Regions from separate parts of the Homo sapiens genome. Here region 2 is linked to region 1. The links are contacts of gene promoters, found by promoter capture Hi-C in blood cells and fetal thymus (Javierre and others, 2016). All regions are on one chromosome and are shown on one strand. Each heading gives the region's core, a stretch centred on a gene start or on the middle of the fragment in contact. The rest is flanking DNA. Distances are from core to core; before and after follow the strand shown.

Region 1 (7,095 bases), core at 1,018-3,517:
GAGAACACAGGATTAAGTGTCCCACCCCTCGCTCACATTTTTAATCCTCTGAAAAAATATTCCTACACAAAAACCTATTTTCTGGTCCAGCCAGAGACTGATGGATGTGGAGTCTCTAAATGGAGATTACTTTTCAGACTCCTAATCCAGGCGCCTTATTATTATTATTTTCTTTAAAGAAGATAAACACACTGAGTATATTTTGGCAATACAAGCCTGGAGCTAGTTTTTACAAAAATCTTAGCATGAGGAATGTATACCTTATACCTTGCTACTTGGTAGTTTTTAAATTCAGTGACCTACAGATGAAAGAAAAATATCAAAAGTAGGTGGTATAACTCCTGATTTGAATAAATTGTTTTTTAATTAAGGCATTTATGGGACGATTGGACATTTTAATAATGACTCAATTTTTGATATTAGGAGGTTATTTTTAGATATTAAGGTGTGATCATGAAATGTGGTTATATTTTTTAAGAGTCTTTAAAGATATGCAGTAAAATACATAAAGACAGTATGCTATATGAGATTTGCTTAAAAATAATACTGGAGGGAGCAAGTAGGTGTAGATACAAGAAACAAGAGTAACTTGGATTTGATCACAGTTGAGGCCGAGTGATGGGTTAAAAACGGTGGGGGTGGGGAGTTCATTATACTACTACGTCTACTTATGCATATATTTGAAATGTTCTATAATGAAAGGTTTTAGAAACTCTAATTTCTTTATGTTTGTGACATCTAGTTACGGCATGTTTGGGTTTAGAGACTGAGGGTGGCTTTCCCCAGGGGTCCCACAGCCTGCTGATGAAGTACTTGGCACACCCCGCGCTCCCCTGGGTTCTAGCTTGCATCCTGGTCTCTAACTGAATGGTAGCCCGCCTACTTAGCTTGAGTGTTTCAAGGACTCCTCCTGGTCAAGAGCTGGGTTTCCCTATTCATTTCATTTAAACAAGCTCCCAAGAAGGCAACAGGGACCCACTGTACCCCAAGAGGCACTCCAAGTTTCCTTCAGAGAGGAAAAAGAGAGACGGGGCTCCTAGAACCCACTCTCCCCAAAGGCGAGTTTCCCAGGTAAGTTCATTTCGGGCCCGAGACTGATGGAGCCACCCTCCCACCAGAAGGGCGGCGTGGAGGACCGGAGACCGAAAGTCGGGCCTCTGGGAGAAGCAGCTGGCGCCCAGGGGCTCCGCCGCCCGCACCCCACTCTCGCCCGCTGGGGACGCCCTTCCCTCCCCAAGGCGTGGACGCCCCGCTCCGCTTCTCTCTACGCAGGCCCGCGCGGCCGCTACCTGCAGCACTTGGCCAGGCTCTCCCGCAGCGTCTTGCGCTCCTGCAGGCGCCGCTCGTGCTGTTGCTGGAAAGCGAGCTCGCTGTAGACCGGCCGCGACACCATGTAGCTGCAGCTGTACTCGGGGAGCTGCGGCGGCTCCGACCTGCCGCCTGGCGCTGCCATGACCTGCGAGCCAGAGGACAGCGAGGAGGGAGGACACGCGGTAAGCGAGGACGATCGGAGGGGAAGAGCGAGGAACAGAAAGAACGGGATCACCTGTTAGCTGCAGCCAGGCCCCCCTGCACCGCGAGTCTGGTCCGCGTCCTGCAGCCCTCGGCGCTCGCGACAAGCGCCCCACGGCGCGCACGGCCAGCCTGCAGGGGGGCACCTGAGAACCTTCGGGTCTCGTGGCCTGCACCCGCTGCCCGGGGTTCCCCAAACTTGAAGCGAGTAAGCCCCTGCTCTGGGGGCTTCCCGAGTTCCACCCAGTCCCCTATGGCCCGCAGCCAGGGCGCTGTCCGCGTTCTGAAATCTCCCCCAAACCGAGGGGCTGGGGCAGGGGCCAAAGGCGCTTGCAAGGCTGGAAGGGGACACTGAGATTCCCTCCCTCCCCGCACCTGACCCGGGACGCAGCTCCAGGTGCGCACTGGAGGAGAGGTGCAGACCCCCGGGCCAGGCGTGGAACCGTCAGGGCGCGCTCCGCGGGTCCCCAAGAGGCGGACGCTGCAGGCACATTCCAGCAGCTGTCGCAGCCCTCTCGGGGGCAGAACTTTCAGCTTATTGAGCAAGTCTCTCCCCTCGTCCTGTTTTCCGAGCAGCCTGTTCGCTCTCGGCGTCTCAGAAAGAAAGCTGTACTGCCCCCTGCCCACCTGATCCGTGACCACTTAAGAGTCCCATCCGCAACCCTCGAGGCCTCCCCGGGAGTGGAGCCCGGGCCGGGCGGTGTGGGCATCTTCAGGGCGAACTCACCTGTCTCTGCTCGCGCCCCGCCCGGAATGCCCCGCGGACTACCCTTCCGCTGCCTTTATAGCGCTCTCAGAAGGCAGTGGGACGTTTTATTTACGGAGCAACAGACACCTTGGTCGAAGGGAAAGACACACACAGGCTGCGGTCTTTCCCAACCGATCCTATCAGGAAAGAAATCCTACCCCTCCTGCATTCTTCCCCTTTCCCGAACCGGGAAGGCTGAGACTCTTACTGGCTGCCACGCAGGGGCCACCCGGATCCTCACTCATCCCGTTACTAATCTCAAGGGTTGCGAGGTCAGGGGCGGGCCAGGCCCTGTGGGACTCCTTAAAGAAGAGCAGAGCCCGCCTAGAGGAAGAGGTCCGTGGTCTCTGGGAGCCTGCCACAGGTGCTCTCATACCACATGGGGAGGAGAAGAGGAACAATGGCCAGGTTTCTATATTAATAAGTCCTTGAATTTCTAGAAAGTCTTTTAGGAGTATTCAATGGGTGGAGGATACAGAGAGTTCACGATTTACTCAGATTTTAGCCACTTATTCTACGTGTGCATGTGTGTGTGTTTTATTTCACAATCCAAATCAAGCCGTCCAGGTGGCCCTTTCTTACCCACTAGACTCTGTTTTTTCTTTTTCTCATTCTCCTGGACAATCAGGGAAGGAATAAACTGGACTACATGGAAATCAAGACTAGAAGAGAGGGAGGAGGAGCTGGAGCTATCCTACCTCATCAGTGTTTTGTCTTCTGTTGGGATGAACTTTGTTAAAACTAATGCATGGTTAAGATGAAAGGCAGAAGGAAGGGTTTGATAAACCAGAACATTCTCGCCTGATTGTTAGTGTTCTGAAGTAAATACAGAAGAGGCTCCAAAATACAGACCTCTGTACATCAACCTTCCGTAATCCACCTGCCTTGCATATGCAGACCATGACAATTCTACGAGCTCCTGGAAACAGAACTCAGAACTCCTCCCCAGAGAACCCTGATGCAAATTCTCTGAAATGGTAGTCAGCATGTGCGTTTTCCTGAGAAGTGAATGAGTCAACAGCTTTCAACAGATCTTCAAAGGCTTACTTCACCCAATGAAGTTAAGAACCACTAAAGAAGAAACCTAAAAGGAAAATCCAGGTCATGAACTTTGCAATTTTTATTCACATACAGAGAAGAGGGGAGGAATCTCTTGTGTATGTTTTACTTATGTATACCACTGGTTCTTAATAAAGGGCTTTTTTTGCCTCCAGAGGTCAATGCCTGGAGACATTTTTGGTTGTCACACCTAGGGAGATGCTATTGGGATCTAGTGAGTAGAGACCAGAGATGCTGCTAAACATCCTACAATGAAGTTTGCTATCACTCCAAGGTTTTGCATGCGACTTAAACTGTACATTTATTAATCAATTGCTACATGTACTAAAATATGTATCTCTCTCCATATATGTATATATGCGTGTATTTTTTCATTATTGTTGGATGTATAGCTCAACTCCACTACAACAGAGGAAAGTATTTGTTTTAAAGTAGAATCTGAATATACTCACTCTGTATACCCTCATCCATACCTTCAAGATCTGGTGAAAACACTATCTCTTGCAAGAACATTCTTTGATGCTGTTCAGAATTAATCCAGACCCTTTTCTGTATTCTCTTAATACCTTATCTGATCCTCTCTTAAGTTACTTCTCACTATCTACCTTAGTAACACAATTTTATTTACATACAAGTTCTCTCTCCCTCACTAGACAAAAACTTCTTGAGGGCAAGCACTGTGTCTCCTTTCAACCATTATTATCTTCTCTCATGTTTTTTGAACAGATTTATCTATAGCCCAAACATACCTTTTCAAAAAACTAAAAATTACTTTACATATTTGATCTAAGGCTTTGTTTTTCTCCATTAAGAGCATGCTGTGGATATCTTTGCAAGTGAGTGCATAAGGATTTTTCTTAACCTTGGAGATGGCTGTCTAGGATTTCAGAATATCAACTCATATTTGTAGCTCCATGGCAACTCACCTACACAACTCACAACTCTTTATTGAAGGCATTCTGTACCAATATAAATATAGTCCATATCCCATTCTAATATGGATTTCTGCTCCTTGTTGCTTGCTATTTTGAACACTTTTAGTCTGGTCCAGTCAGGCCTATAAACCACTTTGCATCAGAACTTGGCAATGGTTTGCTGGTTCAGAGGATTAAGGAGTGGGGTAAGGCTGGCAGAAGGACAGAAGAGAAAAGACTTGAGTAACAACAGGAGGCAAAAGAGTAACTTAGCTTGGCTAATAGAATTCTTATTTGAAATGCATCTCTCTATATAAGAGTTTGGTTCAATAATCACAATATAATAAGTCCTGCATGTATCTGGATGAAGATAATTGCTTTTTTCTGTTCAATGCTTTTCCATAGCAGAAATAGCTGGGGCAGAACAAAATGGTATCTCTGTTACAGGATTCTATAAGGGTATAGAACTGCTTTTCTCATAGGTAAAAGGCAGACCGTTTGAATTTGGCTTTTTAAAAACAGAAGAGTAGGAGGAAATAACAGCTTGCTCTCTCCACCCTATTTAATTGTGATATTAAACACCTTAGATTACTCACTTGGGCTTTATAAGGCAACCTTCTCCTGTTTCACACAGAGGTGGGTGGTTCTTATTTATCAGACTTTTAAAATATTCAGGACTTCTTTCCAAAGAAATAGATGCATCACTTAAAAATAAATATCAGACAATATTATTGATACTTTACAGTACTTATTTAGCAGTTAATACTTTTTTAAAAGGCATTTTCTTATTTATCATTTAGGCATTTGCAGTGTAAGACAAACTCCCTTGTTTGATTACGCATTCACCTGTTCATTCATTCATTCATTCAAGGATTTATTAGGAAATTATTTGTGCTGGCTGTGGGTACAATGATGAACAAAAGCTTATACCCTGGCCTCATATTTATGGGTGCAGTAGACACTAATCAAATGGTCACAAAATGTGTATCTTATTTCACTGATTATAAAATACAGATTTTTCACATTTTATCAGGGTTCATGTTATAATTGATGATCTACTATATATTATAGTTTAATTGATAGCGTATTTTGTGATTCATAAAATGAGTTTTATAATAGAATTCTATAATTAATAAAATATAGATATTTACATAAATTTATAGTGTATCTATGCCTTTTTTTTCTTTTTTAGAGATGGGATCTTGCTATTTTGCCCAGGCTGGACTTGAACTCCCAGTCTCCAGAATAGCTGGGACTATAGGTGCACACCACCACACCTGACAGAGTATCTATGCTTTTGAGTGACTACGTGTGCTACAAGAATGATTTAATTGAATCCTTCGTTTATTTAACTTAAGAGCAGTCAATCTTGCTACATTATTTTTGTCTGAGAGCGAATATTGTGGTATAAATTTTTTCTTTTTTTTTTTTTTTTTACAATTTAAAATGTTCTCAAATCAGAAGAATTGCAAAAGAATGCAAACATGTTGGCTGGGCGCTGTGGCTCACAGTGTAATCCCAACACTTTGAGAAGCTGAGGCGGGAGGATCACTTGAGCCAGGCCTAATCCTGAGCTTTTATTTCATTATGCGTGTTAATTTTCTCAAGATAGCAAATGCTAAATTTTTGTCATACTTATACAAAAAGAGAACTGAACTGAACTTTCTTTCTATATTTCTGATCTCTTCTTCTCTGAGCAACTTATTGGGCTTATTCTCAGTAATCATACAGTTTTGCACTCAATTGTTTTCTTGGTTTTTTGTTGTTATTTTTATCTTGCACTCAATTGTTTTCTATTTGTTTACTGTATGCTACTTTATTTTCTTCTCCAGTTATAAGATATGCTCCCTAGGGACATAAATAGTATATGTCTTTTATGGTGTTACAAAAATAAGATGTGCCTGTAGTAAATAATTTGGAAACTACATTAATGTATAATATAGTAATCACATTTTATCTCATTATCCAGATAATCACTGTTTTGCTTCTTTTTTTATTTATTCTTTCTATGCAGACATAGGTATACATTTTTATTAAAGTAAAATTATAATGCTAGTCTCTTTATTTCCCTACACAATACCTTGACAAATTATGACAATATAATAGGTACCAGACTTGTTAAATTATTGATCAATTGATTGTTTAACAATGGAATTTTGAGAAATATTTGGGTAGAAAAAAAACTAGTTTTAAAAGAAGAGAATCCAACCATTAAAACATCAAAAAATGAAATTATTTGTAAATATTATGTGGCAATCCATTCAATTTTAAACAACTTACAGTGTCAATAAAACTATAACTCAATAAATTTCTCAGGCAGAGCCCATCTGCCTCTTCTTTAATATGAATGCAAACTTGATATGTGGTTTAGTAAATTGCTAGAACGAAATGATGGCATAGTTTTGGGTTTTGAGGGGTTTTCTGTGTGTGTGTGTGTGTGTGTGTGTTTGTTTGTTTGTTTTAAACAGGGTCTGGCTCTGTCACCCAGGTTGAAGTGCAGTGACACTATCTCAGCTCACTGCAACCTTCACCTCCAAAGCTCAAGCCATTCTCCACCTCAGCCTCCCAAGTAGTTGAGACTATAGGCATGTGCCACCACACCCGGCTAATTTTTGTATTTTTTGTAGAGACAGGGTTTTGCCATCTTGCTCAGGCTGGTCTCAAACTCCTGTGCTCAAGAGATCCACCTGCTTCATCCTCCCAGGGTGCTGGGATTACATGTGTGAGCCACCACACCCAGGTGGGTTTCTTTTAATGTTTGTTTTAATGATGATTTTTTTTTTTCAAGAGATGGGGTCTCGCTTTGTTACCCAGGCTGGTCTCAAACTCCTGGGCTCAAATAATCCTACCACCTCAGCCTTC
Region 2 (7,095 bases), core at 2,121-4,620, 870 kb after region 1:
CTATGGAGTAGCCATTCTTTTATTTCTTTACTTTCTTTTTTTTTGAGACAAAGTCTTGCTCTGTTGCCCAGGCTGGAGTGCAGTGGCACAATCTCGGCTCACTGCAACCTCTGCCTCCTGGGTTCAAGTGATTCTCCTGCCTCAGCCTCTGGAGTAGCTGGAACTACAGGCACATGCCACCACACCCGGCTAATTTTTTGTATTTTTAGCAGAGATGGGGTTTCACTGTGTTAGCCAAGATGGTCTCAGTCTCCTGACCTTGTGATCTGCCCGCCTCAGCCTCCCAAGGTGCTGGGATTACAGACGTGAGCCACCATTCCTGGCTTCTCTACTTTCTTAATATACTTGCTTTCACTTTACTCTACAAGCTCATCCTGAATTCTTTCTTGCCTGAGATCCAAGAACCCTCACTTGGGGTCTGGATGGGGATGCCTTTCCTGTAACATCTTTTTGGTGACCACAGAAGGGACTATAGTGAGGAAACCCCCAGTAGGTGTTGGAGTCCTGTAACATCTTTCTGTTCACCGCAGAAGGGACTATAGTGTGGAAACCCCCTTCCCAAAGGCTACCTTTGGGTAAGTGTTGGGGTCCTGTAACACTATTGCATGCACTTCAGAGGAGGAAACAGACTCTACAGCAAGTGTATCATCCCTTCTTTTGGAGAGAAGAAATGTTTTACAGTCATAATGCCAGTACTTCTCTAAGTATCCTTTTTCAAACCAAGTTCACCAGGAGGGCCAAGACTGATAATGAAAATCCAGACTCCCAGCCCTCTCCATTCCTGCTGACTCAGAATGGCTAGAGCCCACAGCCATAAGATCTGCCTTTAATCAAACACTTCAGGAGATTCTTACGCACAATTTAAAATGCTGGAACCCCTGTTGCTAAGTGATAGGTATCAAATGAAGAAAAACTGCAGTACTTTTGACCGGAGTGGTGATGCGGATGGAGAGTTTCATGGAAGAGAGTTTGAACGGAGGCTTCAGCTGGTTTTATTAACTGTGGCAAAGAGGAGGTGGCATTCCAGGAGCAAGGAATGATGGTCAAAGGCAATGAAGTGCACAGGGCATCAATGGCTCTAGCATAGAGAAGAGAGAACTGCCCCAAAGTCTCTCACAGACGTGCACTCCAGGCCAACCAGATGATGTCTCTTGCCTTCTCCAGGGCCATTCTGCAGCCTCTCAGGCCTCCCTTCCATGTGCAAGCAGGGTGACACTGGAGAGGAATTGAACCATGGAAAGTTAGTTTTGCTCTGTGCTCACTTGTCACTGAGTGAGCTAAGCTGGCCGGCTTTTTGCCTTCTGTCAAGTCAGCTGCTCTCTGAATTCAAGCAGAAGTATGAGAAACTGGTTACCACTCAGGCTTGAATTTTGCTGTTCTCACTTCTTGAGAGAGCCACAAGCTGACTCTATTTCCAAATGGCAAACAGCCCTCTCAAGGCTACCCTCACCTTAGAGCAGGACCGCACAGCACAGAAAGGCCAGCGCTTAGCACACCAGGCATATGGAGCAGCTCAGGTGCCTCCGGGTGAGAAAGCGGCACACAGCAGGAGGAGATCAGATGTTACTAAGCAGCACGAGGTCTGGGCCAACTGTTGCATCCTTCCTTACTTGGCCACCTGGAAGCTGTCAATCAACTGAACAACAAGCATCTAATGGCTGACAGTACTTGGAGCCAGTGCAATCAGCCTCAACCCCTTTGTTTATTTCCACTTGATGTTATTTGATGAAATGTCTCTTTGGATGAGAGCCTGGTATTCATTTCCCCAGGAAGTCTGGGGTCTGGGCTCACCACTCCACAACCCCCAGCCCTGCCCCACCCTCCAACTCTATCAAAGACTACCACTGCCTCCCTTCTGGCCTTCTCCCAGCATGGTGTAGCAGAGATCATGATTAACTGGAACAAAGTAAGACACAGGCATGGCATAATGAACGTGGTGATGCCAGATGCCCCTCCTAGGAAGGACTTGTTCTAGCTCTGGGAGTGCTGTCAGCAGACAGTTGTCAGGTACCAACCCTTCAGGTCCACCTCAGTTGCAGAGAGCTGCCTTCCCCAAGGCCATTCCCTCCTGTGAGGCCCATATCCAGTGACTGATGGAGACAGGTGTAGAAAAGCCTGGCTCTTTGGCCCAGTGCTGGCCAATCCTTCCACCCTCCCCTTCTCTCCATAGGTACTAATCCTAAGGGCACTTCCTAGCAAACACCTACAACCTGAGTTCCCAGAGAACCCACCTTGCTAAACATGAGTTTGAATTTCATCTTAATGGCTCCTGAGGCCTGTGGCTTTGGGGAGACAATCACTTATTTTTTGTAAGGCTTAATGTCTTCATCCAATAAATGGGAATAATAGTAACTTCATAGGATTATTGTGTATGCGGAGTAATCCCTCATAAATATTAGATATCATAATCTTGGGCAAGTTTATGGCTTCTGGGAGCCTTGGATCCTTTATGCAAAAATGAGAACAATACTACTTACATCTCAGGATTTTGGTTAGACTTGTATGACATAATGTATGTCTTGTTACATGCGCAATAGATAAGAGCCCCCGCCCCCCACCATTTTCCCTTTAAAATACCCACGGAACCTTTATATAGTGAATTAAAAAAATAAGTTGTGTTTATTTTCTTTTTCTGTATTGCTTGCCCTTCATCAGTGTATAGGACATTTGTATTTGGAGGAGAAAAACTGAATGCAGAACAGAAAGGCAGGAGCTAGGGTGGAACCCTGGATTTGTGGCTCTGTTCTCTTTCGTCACAGCTCAATGGCCAGCTCCTCCGGGAAGCTCACCCTGACTAACTCAGTGCATTCTGCAAATTATTCATGCAACCATTGATGACCATCTCTTTTTCCTTGATTCACTTTTTTAGTTCTTATAATAATATATTTTCATGAATTACAGGATTTCTATGTTCTTATTGTAAGCCTCTGAGAAGCAGAGACGGTGTCTGTTTTTTAAGAGAGTATGCCTGGTGGAATACTACCATTTTCCCTGGGAGTGTTCATTTGTTACTGTGCTAGTTACCAGCAACGAACTCTTCCAACAGTGCTGAGTCCTCCTGCAGCCCCGAGATGCTCCAGGAATTCCCGCTGAATTGACAAGAAATCTGAGAGCCAGATGGGGCCTTCTGAGGCCCCCCAGTCCAACTCTGATCATCTTACCTTTCTGGAAACTTATTTTTGGTCATCTCCTTCCCTCATTTAAAGGCTCATGTGAAAATTTTTGCAAACCCATCTTTATTGTATCTTCTGTATTTTATAATTTGATAACTCTCAATTTTTAAAAAAGCTTGGTCAGTTCTAGGAACATTGTCTTACACTGACACCTGCTGGGCAGGTGGAAAAATAACAGGTACCTGTAACACTAGTGTCTTTTAGGACTAGAAGCAGAGAAACTCCATTCATCTTTCTTTAATAAGCATCTTTCTTACAACTATCCTAATTTTAAGCTTTCCTTTCCCTCTTCTCCCACTAAACCTAAAGTCTGGATTTTATATTTCTTGATGACTCTATTGCTAAAAGCCTATAGCACCATTAAACAACATCATTTCATAGATAACACTTAATGCTTAATGATGAACAATAATCCCGCTCATTACCTGTGACCTTGGTTCTGCAAGCACTATACCTCCAAACAACTGAGCTGTCGAGTGGGCCCCATGAAAAGTAGGTGGCCATTTTTAACCCTGGATTCACCCAGTTGGCCGGAACTGTGAGGCCATCTGATCTGGATCAGAGTGTCTCGGTGATGGAAGGAAGAGTCATTCAGTGTGAATGTCAGAGTTCTTATTTTGAAAGTTTTTCCAGGGATCACGACCCCAGTAAAAATTTATTTAAGTGTTTCATCATCCTAATGAGACTTTGTTATAAACCATGTCTCTCTCTCTCTGCTTTTATTTAAACACTTTTTTTTTCTGTCCAAACAAATTCCAGCTCTAATAGTCCTTTTATTCCAGGAAAGGATGGACAAACAAGTAAATAAAGTATATGATTTGTCAAATGATCATAAATGCTAAGTTTTACAAAAGGGCAGGAAGGAAGATAAGGATTGCGTGTGTGTGTTTGGGGAGGTGGTTGCTTACTGCTTATAGAGCCGTGTGGGGGATAAGGGCTGACCCAGGAGCCTTGGGTTTCTTGTGGTGACATAAACAAGGTTAGAAAGTATGCCGAGGCTGAGGCAGGAGGATCACTTGAGCCCAGGAGGTGGAGGTTGCAGTGAGCCAAGATCGTGCTATTACATTCCAGCCTGGGTGACAGAGACTCTGTTTCAAAACCAAAAAAAAAGTATGCTGAGGTTTAGAAAAGACTAATCAATATCCTATTTATTATAAAAACTTTATGATATTTTAATTTATTATCATAAAAACTTTACCAGATATACCAGTAGGCTATATTCTAATTATCCCCCTTACCAATCCCTTTCACTGTACTTTTTTGGGGTTTATTTAATAACTTAATCATTAAAAGTACTTTCTAGTTGGGTCCATACTTTTTTCCTGCAAGTGTTGATTTAGAGAGGAAGACAGGACCCAGGGTCTGAGCCTGTGGCATTTGTTAGCACTGCATGGGAACTAATTGATCCTCGGGGTCATCTGGAACTTGGAGAAGGAGGCACTGAAGAATTCAGTCGGGGTCACAGAGGAAGGGGCCTGATGCCTGGGATGGATGGGCCAGGCAGACTCAGTGAGAGGAAGGGAGGTGGATTTTGGATCTGGGTAAACTTCAGGTTTGAAAAGTGGCTCTCCTCCTTACTAACTGTGGATCTTGGGCAGTTACTTATCTCCTCTTTGCCTCAGTTTCTTCATCTGTATATGGGGATAACAATTCCATCTTGAATAGTGCTTGTTGACACGGTGCTTGGCACATAGTAGGTGTGAAGTTATTTCTATTCCCTGTTTCAGAAGGAACGCTATTTTGCTTATGTCTGGCCCTGTGTCTGCTCTGAACACCCCACTGCTAATTGTTCTTTCACTTGATCCATGCCGGTTCTGAAAATCTTTAGAATTCAAGCCTTCCCTTTTTCAAGTGTTCTGGCTGCCACAAATGATGGCTCTTCTCTTAAACTTCTCCGACATCCTTTCATCCTGGCATTTTCAGACTTCAAAAAACGGTCTTAGAGATTTATTGATTTAACAAATGTTTATTAAGCTCTTACAAAGTGCTAACACTGAAGATAGAAGAGTGAACAAAACAAACTAAAATTCCTGCTCTCAAAGACCTTTTATTCTGGGAGAGGATGGAAAAACAAGTAAATAGAGCTTATGAATTATCAAATAATCATAAATGCTAAGTAAAAAAAAAAAAAAAACAAAATGCAGTGCAGGAGGGGTAATTAGGATCGTGTGTGTGTGTTTGAGGAGGTGGTTGTTTGCTCTCATAGAGCCGTGTGGGGTCTGAGGGCTGACCTGGGAGTCCTGGGCTTCTTGTGTTGACATAAACAAGGTTAGGGAGCATGCTGAGGTTGATCTTGGTGGTCTCAAGGAGGATAGTGGTGTGGAGTGTGAAGGCTGGGGATTGGTAGGTTGGGCTCCAGTCAGGAGCATACAGAGTCCCCTCTTCATTCCTGCCAAAGGTGTCCTGGAGGAGAACATGGGGAGGGGCCTCCTGATTACACCTGGACCACAGAGAGTTGGTGGGCTCCCCTCTCATTTGCTTCCTTCAGTTCCTGATGACAAGACAGGCTGTGGGGACTTGGTAAATGTTGACTTCTTAAGACTCAGGCCCTGACAAGTGCATTGTCCTGCCCGGCTCTTGGCACATTGCATACCCTTCTGAGTCTCTATTTCTCCCTCATCTCTAGGAGGAGGAGGAGGCTGGCCTCTTATATCGATTTCTGCTAAAAACAAATTCTGTGATGTTAAGAAGTTTCAATTGTATCTCCATTGTTGGAGTTTTGAACAGAAAATAGAGAATTTTAGGGTCTAGATAGAATTTTTGGTTTATTTTTTCTTTCCAGTTGGCTTTGGAAGAAAAGGATGCAGGAAAGGAAGACTTGGCTTCTGTTGCTGGTTTAGAGGAGTGAGATTAGGTTTCCTGGATAATAGCCAAACCTACCAGAATAGGGGGATTGGATCTTTCAAAGACTGGGAAGAATTTGTTTGGCAGGAGATTTGCTGACTTGATCAAGAGGGATTTTCCACTCAAATTTTCTGGGAAAGGGAGAAGAAAATCCTGGTAAAATCAACTTAAATGCTCCCTTTGTGGATATTCATGACCCTCAGGGCTGAATTAGTTGCTCCTGTCAGTTTCCACAGAAAGGTGGGAAGAAAGATGGAGCCAAGGGATAGGATAAAGGCCAGTGATCTCCTGCAGGAGCAGCAGTGCGTGTATGATGAACATTTAATAAGTGTGCAATGAATTAACAAATAAAGAATGAAAGACAATAAGACAAACTGTATTAGGTCTCGCTATAAGGGAATACACGACACTGGGTAATTTATAAAGAAAAGCGATTTAACTGGCTCCGAGTTCTGCAGGCTGTACAGGAAGCATGACGCCAGTATCTGCTTGGCTTCTGTGGAAGCCTCAGGGAGCTTTTACTCATGGCCAAAGGCAAAGTGGGAGGAGGCATGTCACATGGCAAAGCAGGAAGAAGAGAGGTGCTACATACTTAACAACATTTTCAGTTATTTATTTATTATTTTTGAGATGGGGTCTCACTGTTGCCCAGACTGCAGTGCAGTGGCTTGATCATGGCTCACTGCAGCCTTGACAACCCCCTCCTCCTCCCCGCCCTGGGCTCAGGTGATCCCCCAACCTTAGCTTGCCAGGTAGCTGGGACTACAGGCATGCACCACCATGGCAGGCTAATTTTTTATATAGCTGGGGTTTGCCGTGTTGCCCAGGCTGGTCTCAAACTCCTGGGCTCAAATGATCCAACTGCCTCAGCCTCCCAAAGTGCTGGGATTGCTTGTGCGAGCCACTGTGCCCGACCTGGGTGCTACGCACTTTTAAACTACTACTCACTATTGCAGGGGCAGCACTAAGCCATGAGGGATCCACCCTGATGATCCAGTCTCCTGCCACCAGGTCCCACCTCCAACATGGGCAATTACAATGCAACATCAGATTTGGTGGGGATACAGATCCAAATTGT

What was found. The method cuts DNA at HindIII sites, captures the fragments that hold promoters and counts their contacts. A CHiCAGO score of 5 or more calls a contact.
Region 2: a fragment that was not itself captured here is called in contact with the fragment with the promoter of SLC26A4 in region 1 in 1 of 17 cell types (fetal thymus); the score reaches 5.5 in fetal thymus.

Annotation. Positions count from the first base shown.
Region 1 is chr7:107,656,000-107,663,094 of GRCh38, reverse strand. SLC26A4 (solute carrier family 26 member 4) reads right to left here and starts at 2,267. Exons shown (of 21, transcript NM_000441.2): 1 at 2,240-2,267; 2 at 1,290-1,456. The coding sequence starts at 1,453. It overlaps SLC26A4-AS1 (SLC26A4 antisense RNA 1), which reads left to right and starts at 1,297. Exons shown (of 2, transcript NR_028137.1): 1 at 1,297-1,493; 2 at 2,889-6,579. The HindIII fragment of the contact is 14,838 bases long and covers 1-5,158 here.
Region 2 is chr7:106,789,446-106,796,540 of GRCh38, reverse strand. All of the region lies in intron 1 of LINC02577 (long intergenic non-protein coding RNA 2577), which reads right to left. Among named protein-coding and RNA genes, the nearest start is that of LINC02577, 18 kb to the right of the region's middle. The HindIII fragment of the contact is 160 bases long and covers 3,291-3,450 here.